3 separate regions of the Homo sapiens genome follow, and all the other regions are linked to region 2. Evidence: promoter capture Hi-C in 16 types of primary human blood cells and fetal thymus (Javierre and others, 2016). All regions are on one chromosome and are shown on one strand. Each heading gives the region's core, a stretch centred on a gene start or on the middle of the fragment in contact. The rest is flanking DNA. Distances are from core to core; before and after follow the strand shown. Region 1 holds the start of MIR155HG (MIR155 host gene). Region 2 holds the start of HEMK2 (HemK methyltransferase 2, ETF1 glutamine and histone H4 lysine). Region 3 overlaps MRPL39 (mitochondrial ribosomal protein L39).

Region 1 (4,821 bases), core at 49-2,548, 3.3 Mb before region 2:
GTTGTTATCATCATGATTATTCTTGTTTGAATTATAAGAGAAAAAGCATGTATCTTAAGAATAGAGGGTTTTAAAATGCTCCCAAGTTCCTTAACCAACCTGAGCCATCTGTAAATTAAGTACTATGGGATTTCCAGCTCTGACATGTATTCTGACATGTAACTGGCATCAGTTTAATACAAACTATTCTAAAATGTCTTGTGCCCTTGACAGGGAGGTCCAAGTACTGGATACTTGCAATGCAATCCAGCAGTGGCCCCGTCTTTCTTACAAAAAGGCCCCAGTCACATGTTGATGAGGCTAGATCTATTCCTGTCCTCCTTCTCTTCCCCATATTTCCTTATTCTTCTTCAAGTCTAAACGTTTATTGAACTGAGACCCATGAATGAGTTACTCGACTAGGCTTGTAGGATAAACTTGCCAGGCTTTAGATCTATTTGTTCCTTTCCATCCCCCAAAATCAAATGGCTGCTCCAGGAAAATGTTCCCCTTGTGGCAGGGTCCGGGAGAAAAGAGAGAAGCGACAAAACCAAAAATTAAAACGACCGAAGTCCCATATGCTCCAGGAATATGTCCTGGAGATGGGAGTGGAGGGCAGGGGGAGAATGTTGTTGAGGTCAAAATTTTTGAAGTTTTAAGTCCTATATCTTGACATCCCGAGTATAAATGCGGGTACCAGACACAGTACAAACGTTCTCAAAGCCCAGTTACGTATTCCAAACCAAACGCGGGCTCTTGAAGGGTGATGAGGTAGGGATGAAATCCAGGATCGCCTGAAGACCATTTCTTCCTCTCTTAGGGACCTGCTGGTCTCCAGCTGATTCGGTCCAGGAGGAAAAACCTCCCACTTGCTCCTCTCGGGCTCCCTGCAAGGAGAGAGTAGAGACACTCCTGCCACCCAGTTGCAAGAAGTCGCCACTTCCCCCTCCAGCCGACTGAAAGTTCGGGCGACGTCTGGGCCGTCATTTGAAGGCGTTTCCTTTTCTTTAAGAACAAAGGTTGGAGCCCAAGCCTTGCGGCGCGGTGCAGGAAAGTACACGGCGTGTGTTGAGAGAAAAAAAATACACACACGCAATGACCCACGAGAAAGGGAAAGGGGAAAACACCAACTACCCGGGCGCTGGGCTTTTTCGACTTTTCCTTTAAAAAGAAAAAAGTTTTTCAAGCTGTAGGTTCCAAGAACAGGCAGGAGGGGGGAGAAGGGGGGGGGGGTTGCAGAAAAGGCGCCTGGTCGGTTATGAGTCACAAGTGAGTTATAAAAGGGTCGCACGTTCGCAGGCGCGGGCTTCCTGTGCGCGGCCGAGCCCGGGCCCAGCGCCGCCTGCAGCCTCGGGAAGGGAGCGGATAGCGGAGCCCCGAGCCGCCCGCAGAGCAAGCGCGGGGAACCAAGGAGACGCTCCTGGCACTGCAGGTACGCCGACTTCAGTCTCGCGCTCCCGCCCGCCTTTCCTCTCTTGAACGTGGCAGGGACGCCGGGGGACTTCGGTGCGAGGGTCACCGCCGGGTTAACTGGCGAGGCAAGGCGGGGGCAGCGCGCACGTGGCCGTGGAGCCCGGCCTGGTCCCGCGCGCGCCTGCGGGTGCCCCCTGGGGACTCAGTGGTGTCGCCTCGCCCGGGACCAGAGATTGCGCTGGATGGATTCCCGCGGGCAGAGGCAGGGGGAAGGAGGGGTGTTCGAAACCTAATACTTGAGCTTCTTTGCAAAGTTTCCTTGGATGGTTGGGGACGTACCTGTATAATGGCCCTGGACCAGCTTCCCTGTTGGAGTGGCCAGAGAAGTGTGTAAAACACACTAGAGGGGCAGGGTGGAAAAAGAGACTGCCTTCAAAACTTGTATCTTTTCGATTTCATTTTGAAAAATAACTACAAATCTATTTTAATTTTACAAAGTTAGACTCATAGCATTTTAGATATCAATGTCTTCATTTAACAGAAGTGAAGATGGAGCAAACGCTCAATCAGCGTCTGTATTTATTCGCTCCTGTTGTGCCAGGGTGCGTTTTTGCCGAGCGGTTGCCTTTCTTTACTCACAAAACCCCCTTGATGTCTGTCCTCCACGTTTTACGAGGGAGAGCCGGATCTTTTGAAGTTTGTATCATCTAAAGCAGGTATATTGGGATGACTATGGATAGAATTTAACCTGAAAACACTGAAGTTGACAGCTGACAAAGATATAAGAATCCAAAGTATGTTAAAAATTAAGGAGCTGAGGCCCACAGAAGTGAAGTTACTTTTCCAGCATCACACAGCAGATCTAGGACCCTGTGTGATTTGAAAAGGCCAAGGTATCTAATGATGCTCATAATTTAGTTTACATTTTGTGTCAAATAGATGAGGTCAAGTGGACATTATGTGTATATTCCAAAGCCAAAATTACTGCTTGTAATATCCATTCATCTCTCCGAAGACGTAGTGCCTCTTTTATATGGCTTTAACCTAATGTATAATCGAAGTGAATTAGGGCAGCCAGACTTTTAATCACAGGACTGATCTTTTAAAAACGGGTATATGTAAAGTTAATTGCTTATCTATGTGAACAGTAATATACACTATAAAAAGTTTTCAAGGCAACTTCCTGCCTGTGGTTTAATTTGATAGTCACAATGATAGGAAATTGGCAGGGTTAGGTGGTGGTATCTACATTTTGCCCATGAGGACTTGTGGCTCAGAGAATTTGAGTTTTTTCTAGTAAGGTCACTAGGTCCCTAGTGCACAGCCTGCTTTTAGGTACGGATGTGGGATGGGGGTGTCGGCAGACCACAGGGTTTTGACTCTCAGTTTGGGCTCATTTCCATGACTCCTTGCTGCCTCCCTGATTTCTGTCAAATGACCAAAGCACATTTAGTAATTACTTCTGCTGCAAGGACTACTCCTTATTAGGCTGTGATAAGTAAGTTTCCTCACATAGTGGGTCAGCTCACTCTGGCCACAGGACCCAGCTTCCTAACCACACACATTAAGAAAGAGAAAAATTAGCACTGTCTGAGACCTACAACCACTTCAAGGGAGAACAGTGGTGTTTGCACAAATGTCTACTTTTGTTTTAACCTAGTCATGTGTAAAAAGTGTAATTCACTGGTCTTTACCAAAAAAAAAAAAAAAAAAACAACAACAAAAAAAAAACAGGCATCATAGTCTGCCTGTGCTGGACGCTATGCTAGACACTGGAGAGACAAAGGTGAGCAGGATAGGCACAACCCTACCCTTACAAACCCAGAAAGTTAGAGGAAAGGCCATCAGGACATTGCTGTGCAATTTGATATCATTTCAATTTTGGTAACATAGATATTTGAACTAATTAGAATGTGCTACAAATTTTGCCATTCTTTACTTTCCATATGCCAACATGGAAAATTTGTAACCCTCATCTTTAAATACCTCATCTTACCAGTCCTCTATAAATCAAAAAATCTACCCCAAAAAGCCCTAGGTTTTAACTTTTGAAAAGTTTTTTTTTATCAGCTTTTCAGGTCATGACTAAGATCTGCCATTCAATTTAAAGGAATTCTTTCATTTTAGAGTAATAGTTACTAAAATCCTTTATTCCTACCTCCTTGAGAATCTAATGGAAATTTTATATGCTCTTCCCAGAAAATTTTTGTTAATGTGTATCCTCACACACCAATTTGCATTCGATGTTAGCAGGCTAGAGACTTCCTTGAATCTCAGCCATGACCCTCTTCGGGGGTCCACTTTCATAATCAGTATTCTAAACCTAGTAGGCATAAATAGCTTGAATAGAGGAAAGTGGTATGTAGACTCTTGCCCTTCACTTGGACTGGGCACCTCTATCACTTGGACTGGGCACCAGCTAGTGCCCTTAACTAGCTGGTGTCTCCATTTTTGATAGTCATTGGCTATTGCTTAGCTGAAGCTATTGATTTTAACAGCCTTATTGTTTTGATATCAGGCTGCCACTCTGCAGAAGTCTAATACTGGGGAAGGAGCACCGGCCTGAGAACCATGGTTTGTTTCTAGGACCAACTCTGCAGATTTCTGTGCCTCATTTTGCTCATCTCTAAGATGGGTGGTTGATGGGTGGCAGGGACTGAACCATTTCTAAAATCCCTTACACTGATGAAATTCTGTGATTCCAGTGTAACTACCAAGCTCACTTTCATATACCTCCTGAGACACAGCTGGTCTTAGTGAATTTATATCCTCTATGTCCAAAGTAAGTCAAAGTAAGTACCACTATAATTCACTATAGAATGTATTTTTGTCTTTCACTGATCTTACTGGACTCAAAACTGTTACATGTTTCCTTAAATTAGATAGAATAAAAAAATTGTGAAACACTACTTTTCAAGGAAAAATATTACAATTTTAAAAGCCTCTTTTTATCCCACCTCTCAGTAGCTACAACTTTCATATACGAGTTTCACATATATATGAAAAAAATTTTCTTATCTCAGACTCTTAAGGAAATGCAATGCTTTTAATATGATCACTGCTGTGTAATTCTCATCTGCCCTGAAACACTTGTTCTGTCCATCAATCAATGTATTTGGGTTTACAATATGCAGAGCCTCAAGCAAAACCAGTGCAAAAGCACATCTATCCTCAAATAGGCACATCATATGTCTGAGCAGTTCAGCATCCTCACTCACAAGTCCAAGGCTCTCAGCAATGTGGAAGAAGATGTGATTCCTAAAATTACCACCCTTACACACAGTGACACACTCACCAGAAAGTGAGGCTTAACATAGCTTAAGTGGCTGTAGTTTAAAACAGATTGTGAATATCTGTGCTAATTCTGAGAAACAATTAGCAGACATATTAACCAATTAGCACAGATCACTAATATCTGTGCTAATTGTT
Region 2 (4,189 bases), core at 610-3,109:
ATTCATAGAGCCATCAGTATATCCTAGAGAATTAAAAGGTCCCCCAATAATAGAGCAGGACAAAAATTCTTTTTCTGGACAGCTATATGCTAATTGGGAAAATAGTATCTGATCTTTGAATGTTAACCATCTTAGAATGCTGTTAACTATAAAATCTTCATTCTACTGTACTTTATCTTTCCATTAAATTTATTTTCTTGCCTATAATCTTGGAAGTTGCTTCTTTTTTAGAGACAGGCTCTTGCTCTGTCACCTAGGCTAGAGTGCAGTGGTGCCATCACAGCTCACTGCTGCCTTTAACTCCTGGGCTTGCTCAAGTGATCCTCCCACCTCAGCCTCCCAAGTAGTTAGGACTATAGGCACGAACCACAGTGCCAGCCCTCTATAATGTTATACATGCATCAAAAGCATAAATCATCCCCATTAAAAAGATCAGCTTGATGGCATTTAGGGAAATTTTTAGCACTGAACTCCCAAAACAACTACCCAGTGACAAGCTCCAGAGGTTTTAAACTTTTGGAACCAGTCTACACATCTGACAAGTCTTTATTAGGTGGTAGTAAGGTCTGAGAATCTCACCAGGTGGCTTCTCTTTGAAAATAACTATCATGGTCTCATAAATAATTAGAATTCCAAACTAGAAATAACCCAAGACTTTATAACAAAATCAGCTCCTTTTACAGCATACTTTGCAGTGCAATTTGTGCTTGTAAATCTTTCTGGGCTATCTTGAGAAGAAAAGACAAGTTATAAAACAGTACTGTTCCACTGTATATTCCAGTAGATCCAAAAGTTCCATCATCTACAATGAAAGACTAGTTTAATAAGAGCTGGGACATTTTATACTGGAGAAATATGACCAAGTTTAAGAGGGATAAATAAATACAATATAGATCTTTGAAACCTGAAAGCTGTTTGTTCCATCCTGAGAAAACCCAGTTCATCTTATCTTCAAACAAATCTAACAACCCAAATTCCTTACATTTAAAAATCACAATGTCAGTATTCATTCCTTCTGCTATTAATTTAAAATTGATGGCGATCACTTCAATAAATCCATTTAAATAAAGTGCTAGGGTAGACTATTGTCTGCTAGCTGCATGTAACTTTTTTTTGGTAACAATTAAATGAAAAATTCAGTTCCTCAATAGCACTAGCCACATTTCAAGCGCTCTGTAGCCACATGTGAGGACTGGCTGGTGCTAGAGTATGCTATTCAGTGGGTTTAAAAATATTTCCCCACTCCAGTAACACAACTTTCTTTCATGTTTGTTAAGGGTGCTTTCTATGTGCTGAGTAAATCAAATAATACCATGCAATTTTAATATGTAATACTTTAAAAATATTAATAAGCAATGTTTCCGGAATATTTTGTTTCCAAACGTGTTATACTATCGCTTCTCTCAGGGACATGTGTTCTTCAGATTAACAGGCGACAGGAAAAGATACGCCTTTGCATGGTAAGCAGTCAGGGAGCTCATGAGACAGAGCAGCCCCCTGGCAAAGGAGATGCGTCCCCGGCACACTCATTACTTGTAGCTACAGGAAAATTCTCAATTACGGCGTCCTGGCTGTCAATCATCTGCAAGTGGACCCCGCCTGCTCCGGCTCAGGGCGGTGATAGTCACCGTTCCGGCCCTCCTCCACCGCACTTCTTCAGAAAGCCGCAACCCTTTCCCGTCAGAGCCCCTCCCCTCCTCGCACCCTGCCAGTTCGGCAGCCGCTGCCTCCAGCGCGTCCAAAAGCAGAAACGTGTCCTCCGCGGGCTCGTACACGTCGCTGAAGGCGCCGCGGCCCACGTGCCCGTGGAACGGCGTAGCGAAGTTCTCCCCTGCCATAGTCCTTCGCTGCGTTCCATGCGCGTGCGCAGGGCGTGCGCATGCGCATGCGCATGCCCTCACCCTCATGCGCAGGCCTAGGAGTGGGGCTGGCGTCCCGGGCGACCAGTGTGTTGTTGTTGGGTCTTAATTCTAAATTTGTCAGTGGCTCTCCTTGAAATTGCTAAGTAGACAGTTGTATAATCCGTGACTATTGACATTTGCTTTCTTCTTTGGAACATTTAAATTTTATTCTGTGAACTAGAACCTGATAGTGGGCATTCTGAGTTGTTTTTGACTAAGGTGAATGTTCTTTCTTCATTCTAATGATATTTGGAAATTCTGTTTTATTCCTAGTTTGCAAGGATTTGAAAAAATACATAATAAATTTTACTGTTTTTTTGTCAGCTGAACTTTAAGCTTTACGCTATAAAGATGAAGACTTTCCTCGTTTTTTTACTGTACTTTATAAATTGCCTTCCTGATGAATCATGAATGCACTCTTTTTATAAACCTTAAGCAAGATGATGCGGTTTAATACACTGCTGAATTGGGGAGGCTAATAATCTGGCTCCGTTTTTTTTTACCAAGATTACGCTACCCTCGTTATGTGAGTTAGGACACTGTTTCTGGAACATTAGGTAGAAAGCCTTAAAACTGGCTGGGCTTGGTGCCTTTTTGAGTGAATGGATCTTTGATGTTTTGGAACATCTGTAAGTTATTAGACTATTCAAGTATTTGCATTCTTTTTGAGTCAATTTCTGAAATTTGTTTCGCAATGAAACATTTTTACAGCTCGTTTTTTAAATTTGAGAAATAAAAATACAGAAAAGTATTTGAGGTACAAATTTTATTTTATTTTATTTCTACTTATGTATTTTTTTTTTTTGGAGACAGAGTCTCGCTGTATCCCCCAGGCTGGAGTGCAGTGGCGCGAGCTAGGCTCACTGCAACCTCTGCCTCCCAGGTTCAAGCGGTTCTCCTGCCTCAGCCTCCGGAGTAGCTGGGATTACAGGCGCCTGCAGCCACGGCTGCCTAATTTTTGTATTTTTAGTAGAGACGGATTTTCCCCATGTTGGCCAGGCTGGTCTCAAACTGCTGACTTCAGGTGATCCACCCGCCTTGGGCTCTCAAAGTGCTGAGATTACAGGTGTGAGCCTTTAACGCACCCGGCTGGGTTACAAATTTCAAAACCCCAAGTTTTAAACCCAGAAATGACAGTATTTTCTCATGTTTCCTTAAAATATTTTTTAAATACAAGAACTAAAATATTACAAATAAGATGGATGTTCTTTCTCTATTTGCCTTCAGTTTAATTGTGTAACATTCTCTCCAAGGCTCTTATGGATTTAGTGTATGTCCATCTAATCCATGTAAAAACATGGATCTTGTATTTATACGTTTATAAACATTCATATCTTTATAAGCAACATACGGTGTATTTTAAAATTTACATAACTGGTACTAGGTTGGACATATTTTTCAAATTTCTTTTTCAGTCAACATTATATGAGATTTATGTTTTGATATATGGTTAGGTTACTCCTCTTAACTGCCATATAGAATTTTATTATGTAAAAATATGAAAAATATATATATATAGAAAGAGTTGTACTTGATCTCCTGGGTTCAAGCGATCCTCCTCCCTCAGCCTCCTGAGTAGCTGGAACTGGAACCATAGGTGCTCTCGCACCCAGTATTAGGAATATACAAATGTCTTTTTATCCAAAAATACAAAATAAATTATCTGTAGGCATGGACAGTGACAGCAGTAAAACATTATATATTTTGTCACTTGAAACCAGTAACTGATTGTTATAGTGATTTCCTAAACATCTGCTAGCCTTTTCTTCAGTCGTTTTCTCCAGCTGACTTCTCTGAAGTTATTGGTGAGGAATACTGCCTTGGGCTTCCTGCCACAGTTCATTAATTAAAGTAAAACGCTATTCTAATCATTAGAACTTGCCATTTCCCATAACACCTCCCGTTCCACCCATTGCACCCAATACAGGGTCCTTCTCTTTTTTTAGGAATTTCTTTGACTACAACTTCTGCTGTAGTTAACAGGCCACCCCAGCAGCATCCAGTAAAGCACTTCTCACAACCTTTGTTTTGTCAATAATTCCTTTTTTCCACCATATTCACAAAATCTGACCGTGGCATCACAACCAGCTTCTCAGGAACTGCATAATTTTCTGGACTATCAAAGATCCTTCAACACCCGCATTTTTAGCAATAGTCATTGCAGGAATTTTGAGTGTTTTCTTAATAGTTTCTGTACCAATTTTTTGATCTTCATTAGCTGGAGTCAATGAGTCCAAGGCACCAATTCATCGAAGTAGGGTACAACCCCCTCCCAGAACAATGCCTTC
Region 3 (4,887 bases), core at 2,388-4,887, 3.3 Mb before region 2:
CCTGCAAGCTTAACCAGTGTTTGTGGCATTGTGGGAAATTAGGATAAGGAGGAAGTCCTAATGAGGACAGATTACACAGGACAGCTATCAGATAACCTAAGTAAAAGAGGCACACTTAGCCTATGAAATAGGAAACAGGAATAGTTGTGGTCAAGAAATACAATCACCCGGGCCGGGCGCGGTGGCTCACGCCTGTAATCCCAGCACCTTGGGAGGCTGAGGGGGGTGGATCACGAGGTCAGGAGATCGAGACCATCCTGGCTAACACGGTAAAACCCTGTCTCTACTAAAAATACAAAAAAATTAGTTGGACGTAGTGGTGGGCACCCATAGTCCCAGCTACTTGGGAGGCTGAGGCACGAGAATCGCTTGAGCCCGGGAGGTGGAGGTTGCAGTGAGCTGAGATCGCGCCACTGCACTCCAGCCTGGGAGACAGAACAAGACTCTGTCTCAAAAAAAAAAAGAAAAGAAATACTATCATTCCTACTCATTAAGTCTAAATGCTAATGACAAAGAATAAACTACAAAAACACAAACATTCAAATCTGGTTTTTCAGGACATTAGGATATTTGCACATTTACTGTTAATGGCTAAAGGCGGCTTTAAAATACACCTGACAAATCTTAATCCTCTAAATATTCATTAAGTTTACAAAATAAATCCTAAGACCTAACTGATACCATTACAACTATTAAGAACTATTACTATTACATAGTAATATTCTTATTTCTCTTCAAGTTCTACAATATCATTTTCACGATATTAACAAATAAAATCAAAAGAGAACTGCCAAGTTACAACTTTACCCTTACCAACACACTAGTGAACAATCACAACACTGCTTTGACTATTGAGACAACTTACTTTTTTCCTTTCTCTTTGTTTCTTTCATTTTTCCCCCCTTTGGTTGTTATTGGTTAATTTTGATGAATTTCTTTATAGAAGAGTACTCAATAGCTGTCAAAAACACTTACCATTTTCCGAGATCTTTCCAATAGCTTATCCCATATTGTAAAATGTGCCTTGAAAAGAAAAGATTTGCGATGAACTAAATGAAGCAGTAATGTCAAAGTAAAAAGGACAGAGTCTTTATATAGCTTTTAGAACAAAATAAATAAAAAGCTAGGCAGTACTAATTTAGATAAGTGGTTATAAAAGTGGATCATAGTAGCAAAAAAAGGTGCTACATGGGGATAGCTGCTTTTTTGCTTTCTTCAATCGCATGAACCCGGGAGGCAGAGGTTGCAGTGAGCATTTAAGAAAAAAACGCTTAAGGATTGAACGTGCCCTTCTTTCACTTTTGCCCATCTTAATCATTTCCATCATAGAAAGCATTTCTTCTAATAGGAAGCAAAAATCTGCCCTACTTTCCCATAGACTGTGGTTCAATCCTTAAACAGCCAGTTTCAACATTCTAGAAGTCATTCTTCAAATCATAAGCAATCACAAGAAGACAGTCATTAAAAACCAACTGTGACATCTTCACACTGAAATGGCAGAAGCAGAGGATTCATCAAGTTACCCTAAAGAATAAGTAAAACCTAACAAAGACAATAGTAAATTTTTTTTTTTTTTGAAATGGAGTTTCACTCTGTCGCCCAGGCTGGAGTGCAGTGGTGCGATCTCAGCTCACTGCAACCTCCGCCTCCCAGGTTCAAGCAATTCTCCTGCCTCAGCCTCCCAAGACAATAGTAAAATTTAAACTCAATTTCCTTAGTCCATAACAACCTCCTGTAGCAGAGGATTATCAGAATGCATTAAAGAAAACTGTGCAAAGTGTATCATGACCACATCAATTTTATTAGGTCAACTGAAAGTGGTAACAAGACATATGGGCAGGCCAGTGACTACTCCACACTGAATGAGCTCATAAAATCTATAATAAAAGGTAAAATTAATAAATATCAACATACAAACCCTTCCAGGGAAAGAGCTGACTGGTATGTTTAAAGGGAAAACCATGCCTGACTCAGGCGGAATGAACTGCTGGTGCAGAGACCTTAAGCTGTGGCTGGAATATAGTGAGTGAGGAAAGGAGTGGTGTTAGATAAAGTCAGAGAAGCAGGCAGGGACCAGATAATGCAGGGCTTTGTGAGACAGGGTAAAGAGTTGGGATTTGTTCAAGGGAAGCCATTGGAAAGTTTGGGGCAGAGGAAGTACATAACAGATTGTGTATTAAAAAGATCACTTTGGCTACTAAGTGGAAAATGCACTGTAGATGGCAAGAGTGAAAGCAAGGAAGGTGAGTGAAAACAAAGAGGAACTTGGATAAGGGAAGTAGTAGTAGATGAGATGTTATAAGGTGCATAGATTCAGAATATGTTTCAGAGTTAAAAGTTGAAAGGACTTGCGGATGGATGGGCTGGGGCATGGCTATGAGGGGAAAAGAGAATCAAGGATTACCTTAAACAACTAAGGAAACCAGGGGTATCCAATCTTTTGGCTTCCCTGGGCCACACTGGAAGAAGAATTGTCCTGGACCACACATAAAATATACTAACGCTAATGACAGCTAATGAGCTAAAAAAAAAAAAAAATCGCAAGAAAACCTCATAATGTTTTAAGAAAGTTTACAAATTTGTGTCTCATTCAAAGCCGTCCTGGACTGCATGCAGCCCATGGGCTGTGAGTTGGACAAGCTTGAGTTAAAGGATGATCCCATTTTCTGAAATTGGGAAGGCTAGGAAAGGAAGCAGGTATGTGGAGAAAAGTCAAAGTCAAATGTATAGGAGAGGTGTGCTAAATTTTACAAAATGAGAGGGATGAAAGAAGATATAAATAAATAAGAAGATACAGTAAGTTCATAGACTGGAAACCTCAACATATTAAAGATGTCAATTCTCCCCAAACTGCTATACAGGTCTAATGGACTTATCAGAATCTCAGGAAGACTCTGTTGACATTGAAAATATTATCCTAACATTAAATGGAAACTCAAAGAGACTAGAAGAGTTAAAACAATTTTGATTAAAAAACAGTAACAAGGGAGGAATTACTCTACCTGATTTCACAGCCTATTTAGAGCTACAGTAATCAAGACTGGGTGGTACTGGTAGAGAGCTAAACATATGTGATCAATGGAACAGAATAGAGGACCCAAAAATAGGCCTACATAAATATGCTCAGCTAATTTTTAACAAAGATGCAAAAGTAACTCAGTGGAGGAAGAGTGGCCTTTTCAACGAATGGTGTTGGAGCAATCTGACATCTATAGCCCACAAAAAAAAAAAAAAAAAAAAAAAACCTAAACCTAAATCTCACACTCATAGAAAAATTAACTCAAAATGGACCACAGATTTAAACAAATGTAAAACTCTAAAACTTTTAGGAGGGAAAAAAAAAAGGAGAAAATCTTTGGGATGTAGGACTGGTCAAAGAGTTCTTAGAATTAACCCCAAAAACATAATCTATAAAAACAAAAATGTTATCAAATTTTAATAAACTAGTTTCATCAAAATTAAAAACTTCTCTGCAAAAGGCTGCTCAGAGAATGAGAAAACAAGCCACATATACAAACACAAGGTACAGACAGAAAAAGAGAGAAATCTGAAAACTACATATCTAACAAAAAACTAGTATCTACAACATATAAAGAACTCTCAAAACTCAACTGTTAAAAAGTAAAACAATCTAATTAGAACACTAGCAAAAGACATAAACAGACATTGCACCAATGAAGATATACAGATGGCAAATAAGTACATGAAAAAATGATCAATACCATTGGTCAACAGAGAAATTCAAATTAAAACTACAATGAGAAATCACTACAAACATATCAGAATGACTAAAACAAAAAAAAAAGTAGTGACAGCATCAAATGCTAGTGAGGATGTGGAAAAACTGATCACTCACACATTGCCAGTGGGAATGTAAAATGGTACCGTCACTCTGGAACACTTTGGTTGTTTCTTAAAAAACTAAACATACACTTATCATATGACCCAGCAATTGCACTCCTGGGTATTTATCCCAGAGAAATATTCACAAAAACCTGCACACAATGTCACAGCAGCTTTATTTGTAATAGCCAAAGACTGAAAATAACTCAGATGTCCTTTGATGGATGAATGGTTAAACAAACCATGATACATCCAGACCAAGTAATACTACTTAGCAATAAGAATGAATGAACTACTGATATACTCAATGTACTCGGATGAAATCTCCAGAGAATTATACTGAGTGAAAAGTGCCAATCCCAAAAAATTACATACCGTTTGATCCCATTCATACAATATTCTTGAAGTGACAAAATTATAGAAAAGGAAAACAGATAAGTAGTTGGCAGGGGTAAGCAGGCAGGGTAATGGGGGCAACAGAGGGAAGTGGCTGTAAATGCGTGTGTCTATAAAAGGCCAACATGAGGGATCCCCGTAGTGAAGGAATTGTCCTGTATCTTCATTGTATCGCTGTCCATACCCTGGTGGTGATACTGTATTTTAGTACTGCAAGATGCTACCATTGAGGAAACCAAGTAAAGGTACATGGGATCTCTCTATGTCTTATAACCCAATTATCTCAAAATCAAAAATTTAAATAAAAAGATTAGCAAGGGGTGGGAGCAATGTGGAAAATGTCAGGCTTCGGGTCATGATGGATCATTAAAATTAGAGGGAAGAGCATGCCAAATTTAAGCTTAAAAGGCATTCCAGGAAGTCTTACCAATACGCACTCTAATACCCCCTCTGTCAATGTACCCTCACCTATGCTAACTTGAAATTTTTAAATGCTATGTCAATTTAATTTTTTCAACTAATGTTTCTTTTGTAATTGTATATTTACACCCTGGGCAACTTTGTTTTTAATCATAAACCTGAGTTTATAAAATATTAGTGTCACATAACTTAAGAAAAATTAAAAGTTTATATTCTTCAAACTGGTAT

What was found. The method cuts DNA at HindIII sites, captures the fragments that hold promoters and counts their contacts. A CHiCAGO score of 5 or more calls a contact.
Region 1: a contact is called between the fragment with the promoter of MIR155HG here and the fragment with the promoter of HEMK2 in region 2, in 2 of 17 cell types (naive CD8 T cells and non-activated CD4 T cells). The highest score is 5.8, in naive CD8 T cells.
Region 3: a fragment that was not itself captured here is called in contact with the fragment with the promoter of HEMK2 in region 2 in 1 of 17 cell types (total B cells); the score reaches 5.3 in total B cells.

Annotation. Positions count from the first base shown.
Region 1 is chr21:25,560,847-25,565,667 of GRCh38, forward strand. MIR155HG (MIR155 host gene) reads left to right here and starts at 1,299. Exons shown (of 3, transcript NR_001458.3): 1 at 1,299-1,411. RefSeq lists enhancers at 834-883, 4,026-4,105 and silencers at 1,264-1,353, 1,364-1,643, 4,564-4,623. The HindIII fragment of the contact is 13,141 bases long and covers 1-4,821 here.
Region 2 is chr21:28,883,508-28,887,696 of GRCh38, forward strand. HEMK2 (HemK methyltransferase 2, ETF1 glutamine and histone H4 lysine) reads right to left here and starts at 1,860. Exons shown (of 6, transcript NM_013240.6): 1 at 1,705-1,860. The coding sequence starts at 1,838. It also overlaps the pseudogene HSPD1P7. RefSeq lists enhancers at 1,159-1,718, 1,714-1,773, 1,719-2,277. The HindIII fragment of the contact is 10,284 bases long and covers 1-2,235 here.
Region 3 is chr21:25,587,860-25,592,746 of GRCh38, forward strand. MRPL39 (mitochondrial ribosomal protein L39) reads right to left here. Exons shown (of 10, transcript NM_017446.4): 9 at 976-1,023. Among named protein-coding and RNA genes, the nearest start is that of LINC00515, 7.1 kb to the left of the region's middle. The HindIII fragment of the contact is 1,999 bases long and covers 2,639-4,637 here.